Regions from separate parts of the Homo sapiens genome. Here regions 2 and 3 are each linked to region 1. Evidence: promoter capture Hi-C in 16 types of primary human blood cells and fetal thymus (Javierre and others, 2016). All regions are on one chromosome and are shown on one strand. The core of a region is centred on a gene start or on the middle of the fragment in contact, and the rest is flanking DNA. Distances in the headings are between cores, read along the strand shown.

What was found. Contacts are between HindIII fragments. The CHiCAGO score rates a contact against its expected background, and 5 or more counts as called.
Region 2: the fragment with the promoter of ZNF530 here is called in contact with the fragment with the promoter of ZNF230 in region 1 in 2 of 17 cell types (activated CD4 T cells and non-activated CD4 T cells); the score reaches 7.5 in activated CD4 T cells.
Region 3: the fragment with the promoter of ZNF416 here is called in contact with the fragment with the promoter of ZNF230 in region 1 in 1 of 17 cell types (naive CD4 T cells); the score reaches 7.0 in naive CD4 T cells.

Annotation. Positions count from the first base shown.
Region 1 is chr19:44,000,701-44,005,422 of GRCh38, reverse strand. ZNF230 (zinc finger protein 230) reads right to left here and starts at 2,466. Exons shown (of 5, transcript NM_006300.4): 1 at 2,316-2,466. It overlaps ZNF230-DT (ZNF230 divergent transcript), which reads left to right and starts at 2,553. Exons shown (of 3, transcript NR_110727.1): 1 at 2,553-3,158. RefSeq lists an enhancer at 2,194-2,703. The HindIII fragment of the contact is 6,099 bases long and covers 2,273-4,722 here.
Region 2 is chr19:57,597,586-57,602,307 of GRCh38, reverse strand. ZNF530 (zinc finger protein 530) reads right to left here and starts at 2,423. Exons shown (of 4, transcript NM_001321981.2): 1 at 2,174-2,423; 2 at 1,529-1,580. RefSeq lists enhancers at 1,956-2,075, 2,166-2,375. The HindIII fragment of the contact is 5,329 bases long and covers 540-4,722 here.
Region 3 is chr19:57,576,004-57,580,725 of GRCh38, reverse strand. It overlaps ZNF416 (zinc finger protein 416), which reads left to right and starts at 1,815. Exons shown (of 4, transcript NM_017879.3): 1 at 1,815-2,054; 2 at 2,628-2,669. The coding sequence starts at 2,022. RefSeq lists a silencer at 1,906-2,125. The HindIII fragment of the contact is 6,514 bases long and covers 1,492-4,722 here.

The sequences.
Region 1 (4,722 bases), core at 1,217-3,716:
TATGTGAAACCCTATACCATCCCTTCTTAAATACCTCTTACCAACACACCCCACATTTACCATGGTATGTGGGCTTCCTTGCTGCAGAAAGCCATAATCAGCTGTCTCTGGTTAGTTATGTTCCTGGTGGTATTTGGCTGATGGTCATCAACAAAGCAACCAGGAAAAATGTAAACAATTGGCAAATTTGGATAGAGTATGAGAACTCCTTATACTATTTTTGCAACTTTTCTATAGCTTTTAAATGATATAAAGATGAAAATATTTTATTTTGTTTTTAGTTTTTAATTTTTTTTTTTTTGAGACAGAGTCTCGCTCCCTAGCCCAGGCTGGAGTGCAGTGGCGCGATCTCGCTCACTGCAAGCTCCGCCTCCCGGGCTCACGCCTTTCTCCTGCCTCAGCCTCTGGAGTAGCTGGGACCACAACTGCCTGCCACCATGCCCAGCTAATTTTTTGTATTTTTTTTTTTAGTAGAGATGGGGTTTCACCATGTTGGCCAGGATGGTCTCGATCTCCTGACCTCGTGATCCACCCGCCTCGGCCTCCCAAAGTGCTGGGATTACAGGCGTGAGCCACCGCGCCCAGCAAAAATATTTTAGATATCAGGAAATAGTCATAAGGATAATGGGAATAATAAAATTGAGCATTATATAATATGGCAGTTCACTAGTTTATTCTTTTTTTTTTTTTTTTTTTTGAGTCTCACTCTGTTGCCCAGGCTGGAGTGCAGTGGCGTGATCTTGGCTCACTGCAACCTCCACCTCCCGGGTTTAAGCAATTCTCCTGCCTCAGCCTCTAGAGTAGCTGGGACTACAGGCACGTGCCATCACGCCCGGCTAATATTTGTATTTTTGGTAGAGATGGGGTTTCACCATGTTGGCCAGGCTGGTCTCAAACTACTGACCTCAAGTGATCCACCTGCCTTGGCCTCCCAAAGTGCTGGGATTATAGGCATGAGCCACCACAACCAGCCTCACTAGTTTAGTCTCTATTAGCAATATTTAAAATTTTCTATAGTTAAAAGACATATGGGAAAACACATTAAAATATAACAATTTTTAAAAAAATGTTTATCAACAAATATAGAAGTAGACACAAAGAAAGACAAAAGAAATCAATTAGAAGCTTAACAGTTACTACCTTTACATCTTGGATACATGGGTAATTAAAAAACTTTTTCTACTCTCATTTCTCCTATTTCAGACTTTTCCACAATGATACAGTTCCACAACAGTACGAAATACTTGGAAAACATGAAACAAAATAGTTGAGAAATTTTTAAAAATTCCTAGACGTCCAAGCCCACGAGCCTTGCTCTCAACGTCCTTTCAATCAGGTCCTAACTTGCTTTCCCTACGAGTCCAGCTAGTTCCTCTGCCTCAATGAGAATGTATCCAAGAGGTGATCAACTCAGGCTCTGACCTGGACTGCCTAGGTGCCAACCCCAGCTCTACCTCTCACTAGTTGGCTGCTATGCACCCTGTGTCTCACTCTCATTTTTAAAACAAAGAAAAGCAATACTTCACAGAGCCACAGTGTGGCCTAAATTTATTTGTATAAAGCACTTAGAATGAAGTTACCAATTACGGCTTAATGATTATCAACACCCATTCCCGAGGACACACTCTCGGTTGGGTGAACATCTCTATAAAGGAAAAAAGCCAAGGACCAATCACATAGAGATTTGCCCTCAGTAGCCAAGAAGTCCCCTCCCTGCAGCTCTTTTAGAAAGGTCAGGCTGGGGAAGGCGAAAGTTGTGAAATACCCTGACTGCATCGCGGTCCCCCATAAAAGTTAAATGCTCCCCGCCCTTCGTGGAAGCGGACGCAACTCGCTTTCCTAAAAAGAGGTCAGAAGGCCTCCCGGGATCATCCAGCGTCCTGCAGGGATTAGGGAGAAGGACCAGGGCCCCTGCAGCTGAAGCTATGACTCCACCCGGGGACCTGACCTCTTCGGGAAGTTAACAAGAGACCACCAGTCACCAAGTGACAGGGACTGCTTTAAGGTTCTCATTTGCGTTATCTCTTTCAGTTCCCAAAAACGATTCTACTAGGATGGTTCTAATGTCCCCATTACCAAAAACAGCAATGGAAAGTATAAGGACATTGAGTAACACTCCACGTCACACTGCGAGAAAGCGGTCGCACAGGTAGGGTGGAGAGAGGCAGGCTGAGCGAGGTCAAAGTCCTGGAAACGCTCACAGCAGGGCACAGAGGACCCCGCCAATTCCAACCCCCGGGATGCGAGCACAGCACCCCCATCCCAGAAAGCTTCCGTGGACGGGAAAAAAACCCCATTCCCCGCCCCCACCAAACCTCCGCTCTCCGCCAAGGCTTCTTTTCCCTTGCTTGGATCATCGATCATCGGGTCGTTGCGACCCCAAGCGAAGGTGACAAGTTCAGAAGGACCCGCCAGACGCAGAAATGGCTCAAACTACGCGGTTATGTAGCAACCGCAGGCTCACACACCGGAAGTGCTCGCGTCTCCACAGAGCGTCTGGACTCCACTTCCCAGAATTCCCCGGTTCAACTGCTTGAGCCAAAGGGTCCGCCATTCCATGAAGTTGATGGACTACAGTTCCCAGAATTCACTCGTCCACCCGCCTGAGCCAACTTGCCCGCGACTCAGAGTGTGTCTGGACTCCGCTTCCTCCAATGCCAAAGGAAAATGTCTATAATCTCACTCTTCAGCGGGAAGCGTTGGACTCCGCGGTGGTCCTTGACTACACACACCGCAGTGCCCACCGGGAACGTATTCCATATCTCTGAGCGCCTGGTGGGGAATGTGGACTGTGACCCTGTGAGTCGTCCGTCTCTCTTCCTGAGTCTTTGAGCGAAAATAGTGTATAGACAGGAATTCCTGAAGTCTAAACGCCTCCCACGATGACAGGAGTGTTATTGGGAAGAGAACAAACGAGGAGATAAAATCTTCAAGGATTAGGATAATCTGACGATGGGAGGTTAAAACTAACGGTTTAAAGGATGAGCCAGGTGGAATGGTTTGGCAGGGGCAATGAGGAGCAGGAAGACACCAGCCCCTACTCCAGAAGCTGTGGGACCACTGGTTTGGCAGGAAAAGCCACCCCCATTTAAGATCACAGCTACTAGTGGAGAAGCGGTGTCGTCATGGAATAGCTATCTTCCCATAAACTTTTCATGGTATTCATATTTCTCCTTAGATGTAGAAACATCAAATTTCAGCGAATGTAGTGAATTGCTCAGTACCTCAGAGCAATAATGACTGATGAAGAGCTAGGCATTGGTATCAATCTTACATTGAGATTGTAAATGCAGTAAAACGGGAGGATTCTATAGGTGAAGGAGCATGTCTTATAAAGAGTTTTCTTCCTGGCCAAGCGCAGTGGCTCAAACCTGTAATGCCAACCCTTTGGGAGGCCAGGGCAGGACGTTCCCTTGAGCTCAGGAATTGGAGACCAGACAGGGAAATACAGGGAGACTTCGTCTCTATAAAAATTTTTTTTTAACTGGCCAGGCATGGTGGCCTGATCTTGGGACTACAAGTTCCAAGTACTCAGGAGGCTGAGGTGGGAGGATTGCTGAAGCCCAGGAGTTTGATTGAGGCTGCAGTGAGCTATGATGCCACCACTGCCCTCCAGCCTAGGCAACAGATACCTCAATAATTAAAGATTTTTTTTTTTAAGTTTCTTCTTATTTCTTGGTGAAACATAATTTCTTTATTATAGTTAGCAATTTAAAAACTGGCATTGGTTAAAAAATAATAACAGTATAAAGCTAAATTAGGAAACAATTCATCTAAAAACCTGCTCTTTTGAAGGTAACTTTTTTTCTCCCTATAAACATACATTGGCCTATAAACCAATATTCTTCTTTTTAAAAAAAATGGAGTCTACTGTTTACCTATTTTTCTAAACTAAAAACTTTTCAAAATTTTGTTTAGACACAAAAATAAGGTGACTGTGCCAAACTTTTGATGCCAAACATCCGCTCTCTGAAAATTGAGTGATCACTATTCATATGCCAGTTATAGCTGTATCCTTGATCTACTCTGCCTTCCCGAAAGATAAGATGTATTGACACACTCAATCGTAGCATGCAGGGAACTGAGCCTAAAAGGTTAGGGGCACTTGGCATCAAAGGTCCCTTCTGCTTCCCAGGTCCGTGCACTCTGGGTCTGTGTTGGGAGGAGCAGCCTCTATGATCTCCTAGATGCCTTTGGGGTCATTCTTCCAGTGTTAATGGACAGCAGGTCCTGGCTTCTGTTGACATGACCAATCCAAACTAATCTCCTAAATCAGTTGCTTATCTCTACCGTTGTTTTATCCAGAACAGGTTTTCTAATTTTTTTTTCCAAAGTAGATAGGCTGTGAATTTTTAAAATTCTTAGTTCTGTTTCCCTTTTAATTAATAATTCTGACTTTCTGTGGTGTCCCTCCCACATGTGGGAATTCTGGGAGATACAATTCAAGCTGAGATTTGGGTGGGGACACATCCAAACCATGCCATTGATGACACTGACAAAAACAACAGGGAAAGGACTCCCTATTCAATAAGTGCTGCTGGGATAACTGGCTAGCCATATGCAGAAGATTGAAACTGGTCCCCTTCCTTACACCTTATACAAAAATGAAGCTGGGCGCTGTGGCTCACCTCTGTAAAAATGGGTAATAATGTCCCCACTTTTAGTTACTTGAGTCTTTTTTAGTCAGTCCTGCTAAAGTTTTCACAATTTTGTTAGTCTTTC
Region 2 (4,722 bases), core at 1,174-3,673, about 14 Mb before region 1:
GGGGCCCTCATGATGGAATTAATGCTTTTGTAAGAATAGAAAGAAAGAGATTCCTTGCTTTCTTTACATACTCCCTCCCAGGAAAGGCCATGTGAGGAAAAAGCAAGAGGGCAGCCACTGCAAGTCAAGAAGCAGCCCATCACAAATAAGTGAATCTAGAGGCACCCTGATGTAGAATTTCCTAGCCTGCAGAACTGTGAGAAACAAATTTTTGTTGTTTAAGCCACCAATATAGGTTATTTCATTATCAACCCAAGGTAAGACACTGATATAGCCTGGATATTTGTCCCCTTCAAATCTCACCTGGAAATGTGATCCCCAATGTTGGAAGTGGGGCCTAGTGGGAGGTTATCTGGGTCATGGAGGTGGATCCCTCATGAATGGCATAGTATCCTTCCAACAGTAATAAGTTCACATGAGACCTGGTTGCTAAAAAGAGACTGGTGCCTCCCTCCTGCCTTGCTGGCTCCCTTTTTGCCTTCTGCAATGATTGGAAGCTTCCTGAGGCCCTCACCAGAAGTGGAGACTAGCGCTAAGCTTCCTGTACAGCCTGCAGAACTATAAGCTGTAATAAACCTTGTTTCTTTATAAACTACCCAGCCTTAGGTATTTCTTTATAGTAATGCAAATGGCCTAACAGACATAGGGCTCCATCCTAGTTCAATAATATCCTCCACTCTTTGTAGAAGTCTCTATCCTGCACCCTTCCTCAGAGTCCAAGACCTGTGTGTCCACCTAGCCACTTGATATAGCTACTTACTTATTCTCTAAAACATCTCATATTTTTAACATGGACAAAACACATTCCTGATGTCCTGAGTGAAAAACAATTCTACTATCTACTTGGCTCTCCCAGTAGATGGAGCTTCTATGCTTCCAGCTACTAAACTCAAAAAGCCTTGAGTCACCCCTTCTTATCTCTCAGTCCCAATACCAGAAAATCAGAGCCGACCTACAATCCAAAATTCAACCATTTCTGCCACACTGTGGCCACTACTCTGGCCCACATCATCTACACTCACCTGGACTATTGCAGTAGTCTCCTCTTTCCTCTTTGGTATTGCTACCAACTCCCTTAAACCCACAGTCTGTTGTCTGTGCTCAGCCACAGGAGCCTCATGAGGCCTGGGGAAGATCACCTCCCTCTTCTGCTCCAAATCTTCATTGCTGCCATCATCTCCAGAACAAAGACATCTGAGACAGCCATTTAGTTTCTAACTCCTGTACCTCTGCTCTCTGTTCCCATGAGAAGGAAATGAGACTTGAGGTTCTCTTAACCAGCTCAGCCTCACCTCCAAGCAGCTCCAAACACCTGTACTTATCTCTGGGACAAACTTCCACATTCATCCTATTATTTGCCAGCAACAGGCACCACCTCATATAATACTCACCCTGGACATATTTTTGTTCAGAGTCCCTAGGCTCAAGGCCTGGAAAAGCGGTAAGTAAAGAATCCCAGGTCACCACAGTCCCAATCCTAGAGATCCCATTGCTGGAATCAATGAGCTTCTGGATTTCCTCCACTTACCCTTGTAGGGTCTTCAAGTGCTTCTTACGGACCTGTAAGTACTAGTGGCAATCTGTGGGAGGAAACATGTTCTGAGAGGCAGGTGACCAAAGTGTGGCTCCATGGACTTCTGGTTCCAATGTGGAACACCAGAGCCAGGTGTCCAGGGATGACTGCTTTGTATCTGGGTGTCAGTCCTTGGTGCTGACTTTTACCAGCTTTGTGACCTCGTAAAAAGACTAGGTCCCTCCATGCCTGCTATCATCACTGCCCTTCCAGCGCGTTCCTCTGAACAGCTTTTGTGAAACTTTTAGAAGCGTGACTGGGGCCGTGCCCCTCTTCTGTCCTACGCGCTGTGGCCCTCAGTGTGCTGGTGAAACTCAGTGGGGCCAATGCAGCGCGGCGCTGCCCCACCCTCTGCTACCTGCACGCGTGAGGCCGGCCTGGGTCTCCCCAGCCTCCCGGCTCAGGCGCAGCTCCAAGCTGTTGCCCGCGCAGCCCCCTGACCGTGTCGCTCTCCCGCTCCCTGCCACACTACCAGAAACGAGATCCAGCACCAGCGCCTCACTGTGCCGGACAGTGCGGTCCGGGCTGCAGAAAACCCTTCACGCGTCCCTCAGTTTCGGGTGGGGAGGGCAGAGGAGGCCGGGAGGACGCAGCGCTCACCTGGGTCGGGGCCCTCAGTGCCGCCGCCATCGGACTCTGGGCGGAGCGGGCCGGGAGCGGTGGACGATCCGGGCGGAGACAAGAGCAAAGCTGTCACCACCGCCGGCGACCGTCAGGCCCCGGCTGTGCAGCTGAGAAAACGACTCTCCTCGCGCCTTCTCGCTGTCAGCACCTAGGTCCAGATCCGGCACCCGCGGATGGAACTGACACAAGCCAAAGTGCCCGCCACAGGGAGGACGCCGGAAGTTCCGCTCCGACAAGTTGGACAGAGCGGAAATGTCCCTCCCCTGAGCCTCATTGGCTCCACGCCAAGAACCTGGCTCACGGGCCTCTGGGTAATGTAGTTCTCACCGCTTCTTGGGCTGGCAGAGGTCGCCCTTCTCCTGGACCTCAGGGAGGAATGACCCCGTTGCTATGGAGAAAGGTGGAGGGGAAGGCTGAGAGGTGGTGTCTCCAGCCTCCTTGGACAAGGGAGGAGCTTCGCTGCTTTTTTAAGGTACCATACAGAGATTTTTGGAGGGTATTGTGTACAACTAGTCACCTAGGTAGTCAGAGTTATTCAGATACAAAATGCCTCTACCCTTGGCGAGAGCCTAGTAAACATTACCTTCTTTCTCCACACATTTATGTAAAGTAGAACGTTAGAGTCAGCTTTGTGAGTTTCATTATGCTCAGTAAGGAATAAGGGAAATAGAGTTTACATAGCGCCATGACAGGAATGATAAAACATCCGTTAGATCGCACCGAAGCTGGAGGACGAAAGAGGAATTTTGTCTCACAGAAAATGCCTCTCCTGCCTGTGTAATCGGTGAGTGTGTCTAGCCCTGTAAGGAACAGTGTTGTATTCATATAATATTTCTTCCTCCATATTCTTAGATATGCTTCTTTTAGGATTGTAGCAACTTTCTAAACAGAAGAGCCACTTAGCATATGCCATTTTAAAGTAGAACAGTGTCTGTAGTGTTCACAGTCAGAGCACTTGTGCAAAGGGGACATCAGAATACCAGAATAAAGGTTTGGGACACCTAGCTTTCATCTCTTTGATGGGAAATTTTGATCATTGATACTGTTACTGCAGGGACAGTGCTTGCATGGGGAGTTGAGATCATCTTAGAAAAACAGTTGTGAAATGAAAATTACTGAAACCTATTGTATTAGTCAGGATTCTCCAGAGAAACACAGAACCAATAGGATACATAGATGTACAAGAGGGGATTTATTATGGGACTTGGCTCATCCAGTTATGGAGGCTAAGAAGTCCCAGGATATACCTTTTGCAACCTGGTAAGACACGAAGGTGGGTGGTATCATTCAGTCTGCATCTGAAGGCCTGAAAACCAAGGGAGCCTATGGTGAAATTCCCAGTTGGAGGCTGAAGGCCTGAGAACTGGGTGAGGGTCATTCTTGTATGTTCCAGAGTCCAAAGGCCCAAGATCCAAGAACTTTAATGTTGGAAAACAGAAGGTGGATGATCCAGGGCAAGAAGAGAGTAACTTGCTCTTTCTCTGCCTTTTTGTTCTATCTTGGCTCTCAAAGCATTGGATGTTGGCCCCTAACACTGATGAGGCCAGATCTCCTTTACATTGTCTACAGACTCAACTGCTAATATCTTCCATAAACATTCTCACAGACATATCCTGTACTAAGGTTTTCCCAACTATTTGGGTAGCCCTTAATGCAGGCAAGTCGACACAAAACATTATACGTCACAACTATTAATAATCTTGTGGCTAGGCCAAGCGCGGTGGCTCATGCCTGTAATCCCAGCACTTTAGGAGGCCAAGGCAGGTGGCTCATGAGGTCAAGAGATCAAGACCAGCCTGGCCAACATGGTGAAGCCCTGTCTCTACTAAAAATACAAAAATTAGCTGGGTGTGGTGGCGTGCGCCTGTAGTCCCAGCTACTTGGGAGGCTGAGGCAGGAGAAGCGCTTGAACCCAGGAGGTGGAGGTTGCAGTGAGCCGAGATCACACCACTGCACTCCTGCCTGGTGACAGAGTGAGACTCCATCTCAGTAGAGAGAAAAAAAAAAAGAATATTGAACATAATTAATTGAACTGAACATAGACTTACTTTGCTTTTTTTAGTGCAGTCATATATAAGTCTATAAGTACATTTGGCTTGGCTCTGGAAATGTTTACCCTGAAGACACATAGAGCAGATAGCTCTTCAGTTGCTGAATTTAAGTCCTGTCTGAAAAGGAAAGGGAGAAGGTGTGGCTCCAGCATGATTTCATATAGAAAGGTAAGTGGGGAGCCCTTCTGAGTGACTCCACAAAGGACTCATTTTGCCTGCATATTTGAGTGTCTAATGGTAATTTTTTTTTTTTGAGGAAGAGTCTTGCTCTGTTGCCCAGGCTGGAGTGCAGTGGCAGGATCATAGATTACTGCAGCCTCAAACTCTTCGGCTTCAGCGACATTTCTGTGTCAGCTTCCTGAGTATATGGGATTGCAGGCACTCACTACTGTGCCCAGCTAATTTTTAAAATATATATATATTTTTTTTTTACAGACAGGGTTCTTGCTATGTTGCCCAGGCTGGTTTAAAACT
Region 3 (4,722 bases), core at 566-3,065, about 14 Mb before region 1:
ATAATTTCCTCCAATTTCACCCGTCTTCTTGCAATTGATGGGATCTCATTCTTTTTTTATGGCTAAATACTACTCCATTGTGTATATGCATCACATTTTCTTTATCCATTTATCTATGGACAGTTAGGTAGCTTCCAAATCTTGGCTGTTGTGAATAGTGATGCAATAAACATGGGAGTGCAGATCTCTATTAGATATACTGATTTCTTTTCTGGGTGGTGTAAACTGTATCATATGGTAATTCTATTTTTACTTCTGTGGGGAACCTCCAAACTGTTCCCCATAGTGGCTTTACTAATTTACACTCCCACCAACAGCGTATGAAGTTTCCCTTTCCTCTCTGTCCTGGCCAGCATTCATTATTCCCTGTCTTTTGCATAAAAGTCATTTTAACTAGAGTGAGATGATATCTCATTGTAGTTTTGATTTGCATTTTTATAGTGATCAATGATGTTAAGCATGTTTTCATCTACCTGCTTGCCATTTATCTGTCTTTTAAAATTTTTAGTTTTATGAGTACATAGTATGTATGTATATTTATGGGATACGTGAGATATTGTGATACAGGCATACAATGTGTAATAATCATATCAGGGTACACAAGCATTTATCATTTCTTTGTGTTACAAACATTCTAGTTATAATACTCTTTTAGTTGTTTTTAATGTACAATAAATTACTGTTGACTGTAGTCTCTCTACTGTGCTATCAAATACTAGATCTTATTCATTCTACCCTGTCTTAAGGAGGCCTTGGTAGCCATGCTGAGGTTATGGGGTGCTGCTTCCAAAACCAAAAGTATTATGGGCAGCTGGTATGAAGGATCATAGGCTTATGGTCTGTGAGATCCTGTATGTTTAAGAAAGCCCAGTCTTATTGCCAGTAATTACTGTTTTAATGGTGTATAGCATGAGGCTGAAAGAGACAGTTTCCTGCATTGGAAGCTTTTACTCAACAAATGGCCGTTGTATGTGGTTCAGAGATTCCAAGAGGCATGAGAAGTGTAAACCAAAAATAAAATTCCCAGCCCCCCAACCATCTGAATGCATCCTTCCTCTTGGCCAAGGGCATTCCAAAGTTAATCTGAAAAACTAGTTCAGGACGTGATGGGAAGTGAGGGTCAGACTTGCCCTCCTCCCCTTGGAATTCAGGCACAACTGACCAGCATTAACATTAAAACAGAGATTTTAAGACTTCTTGTAGCAATAAGACAGTGAATTCCAGCCTGATTGTAGTATAGCATTACATGACAGATAGCAGGCCCTGAAAGGAATTGAAGTATTTTACTCTAAACTTTATTTATTTGACATATTTTGAAGAGGCCCTGCAAAGGTGTGTCTTGTGGAATCTGCATTTTGCTGAGAATCCCCTTTCCTCTCCAGGGTTTTTTTATTTTCATGGTCCAGGAAAGAATTAAGAGTCTGGCACCTTTCAAAGTCTGATAGGAAACATTTACAATCTATTCCCTCTGAAGCCTGCTGCGTGAAAGCTTCATCTGCTTAATAAGAACCTTGGTCTCTACAACCTCTTATCTTAACCCAGACACTCCCTTCAGTGGGTATGGGACTGCGGAAATCGGCCAGCGGCCCCTTTAAGGAGCAGCAAGTCCCTGTCTCGCTCTTGGTGTCGCGCCTTTTCCTAGCGCCCTCCGCGGGCCGCTTAGCCCTTGTTCCGGGTGAATCTCAGGGAGGGCACCGGAACCCTGGGCTTCTGAGAACTACATTACCCATAATGCCGAGCGCCAAGCTGCAAAGACGCGGAGCCAATCAACGTTCAGGAACGGACCTGTCTCCGTTTGTTGCATACGGTAAGGCGGGACTTCCGGCACCGCTCCGAGATGGTAATTTTGGTGGTTCTCTACCTCGGCCCACGCCGCCTGAGTTAGAAACGCTGCCTCCGGCACAGAGCGGGGGTCGCCCCGCTGCGCATCAGCCGGTGGGTCGCTGGCGCTGGTGGCAGCCGTGCCTGGGTTCCCGCCCCGGGTCGCCCGCCGCTCCCGGCCCCGCTCCGCTCACAATCCGATGGCGGCGGCCGTGCTTAGGGATTCGACTTCGGTGAGTGCTGCGTCTCCCGGGCCTCACCTGCCCTCTCCGCCGGAAATCCAACACCCTGCATGAGGGGCGCCTGCTTGCGTCCCTGCAGCCCGACCCTAGAGTCCAGGACTATGAGGCCCTCGCGGGTGGGGCTCCCATTTACAAGCCTGGTGTCGTGGGCTGTGGAGGGTGTGGCAGGCGGAGGGGCCGGTTTCTGTGAATCTTGCTGGGACGATTGAGCCAGTAACGTTCACGCCCGAATGGTAAAATGAGGCTCTTTCTTTTCAAGACGCTGAGAGCCATGGGTGGTTGTGAACAGACGAGGCACATGGTCTGAGTTAGACTTTTCAAATTTTTTCTAAAGTTACTCAGAGTTGGAACAGCCTGGAAGGGGGATAACACCGAGGCACAGGGAAGTTGAGTCCTTGTGCAAGGTCCCACAGCAGGTAAGAGTCACACGGAACTGAGGAGCAATAATAATTTAGTCATCACCAAGTCACCTGGCTCCAGGGCTGCGCAGGGAAACAAGGAGGCATCAGCCCATGGAGCTTCCACCATAGTTACCTGCCTCTCATAGCCTTCCTCTTCCCGCAGGTTCCCGTGACTGCAGAAGCTAAACTTATGGGCTTTACACAGGTGAGTGGAGAGTGTTTCGGGCCCTCACTGATGCTGACCCCAGTGTTTGTCTCTGAGATTGTGTTCTGGGACTCTTCTCTTGGCACTCTTTGGGTCCTTGGTTCTAGGAATCCTGAACAAACATCAGTCCCAGGGTCATACATCCAGGCTGGAAGCTGGTATAGAATGGTTCCTATTGCTGGGAACCAGTAAAGTAAGGTGTGGAACGTTGTCTCAGGCTTAGATACCAGATGAGCAAGTGCTTGAAGGTCAGGCTGAGCTGGTTTAGGAAACTACAGCTGTTTTCTTTCTCATGGGAACTGAAAGCTGGGATGCAGGAATCAGACAAAAAATGGCTGTCAGTTGTCGGGTGTTTCTTCTGGAGTGTGTGATGAGCAATGACAGTTTGGGGGCAGAGGAGGTATGTGATCTGATCCAGGTCTCATCAGGTTCCCTGTGTGTGGCCAAGCTGAGAGAACAGGCTGAGTGTGAGGTATGAGATAGGAAGATAGTGAAGAAGGCTGCTGCAGTAGTCCAGGTGAGTGTTACTGGTGGCTGGACTTGTGTGGTGGCTGTGGAGGTGGTAGTTGGATTTTAGATCAGTTTTTTTAAGTAGGGAAGCCTGGATTTTGAGATAGAAAAGTAGGATTTAGGGGTAAAAGCAAGGTGTTTGGGTTTAGCAGCTGGAAATATGGAAGCTCCACTAGCGAGGATTGTAAAGTTGGTAGTAGAGTCAGTTATCTCTAGAGATAATCAGAAATTTTGATATGGACCATCTTTATTTTTAAAATTTTTTAATAAAAATCATCTGAACATGGCCCAATGGGACATCTTTTAGAGTCTGAGATGTTTCAAAGAACAGTTAGTTTAGACATGAAGTGGATAGTTTATCCTACAGGACTAGAACTGTGTTGAGGGATTCAGGATAGAGACATTTAAAAGGTGGTGGCCACTACTTGCCTAGGGGTATAGCTTGGGACACAATTAGGAGGTGGAATCGTGATCACTTTGGTAATGCTATTACCAGCCCAGGGAAGGAAGGTTGGGGGTCACTACTGGCTCTCCTGCTTGGGGACATGGTTGGTCATGGTGGGAATCACAAAGACAGGTATGGGAGAGAGGTGGCTATGGTAGGGTGTGAGAGCAAGGATGATCTGGCAAGTGGCCAAGGATCTAGGAGAAGAGTGGGCATGAGATCAATGCTTGGAAGTAATTGAGACAAGATGACACTGAGACCAGAACTAGTGCTTACTCAGCACTCTGGATATATCTACCAGGGTTTTGTGGCAACCCTTGAGGTGTCAGGAATTTCAGGGAGGTGGATAAGTTGAGGGGCACAGGTGGTCATCTGGGAGTTATTGGGCCTGAGGTGTGGGGGTCCCCTGGGGCAGACTTTGAATGAGGGTTAGCAGGAGAGGAAGGCTGTGACTTAAGAGAGGACATCAAGTGCAGCGCTAGTGCAAGAGGGCCATCGGTGTCAGATCCCCAGGTATTTCTGGGTGACTGAGGATGTAGAAAGGGACAGAGTCAGGCAGGGAGGCCTTCAGAGCAGGGTCTCTGAAGGGCTGCCTTTGGCAGTGGGGACCATTCAGCCTGAGTGGCACCGGACCTCATTTCAGTTTGCCAAGCACTTTCTGAATGTTGCATTCCAACTATCGTGGGGATGCCAGAGAGATGCCTATGGTGTGGGGCAACAGGGTGGAAATAGCCGTGGGAGTGAGATTGTTTGAGAGAGTGTGTGCTTCAAAGAGTGATGTGCATATGGAGAGGAAGTGTGAACTGAACAACCCATGGCCATGGCATTGAGGATATAAGAATGATGGCAAACCTCATCATTGTTTGTATGTGAGTGGCATAATTTTGGAAACCCCAGGAGAACTGTCTGACAAGACAAAATCCAGCCCTATATGCTAGACCCAGAGTTTAAAATGGCATTTCCTGGCCCACCTGCCTGTTGGTGCTGTGGGAAGACACAGTGATGATGGGACCATGAGGAGAGGGCAGGAATCAGTGCCACCAGGTCTTGGTATCTCCTCTGAGGTGGGGCTTAGGTATGGGGATAAGCAGGGAAAGG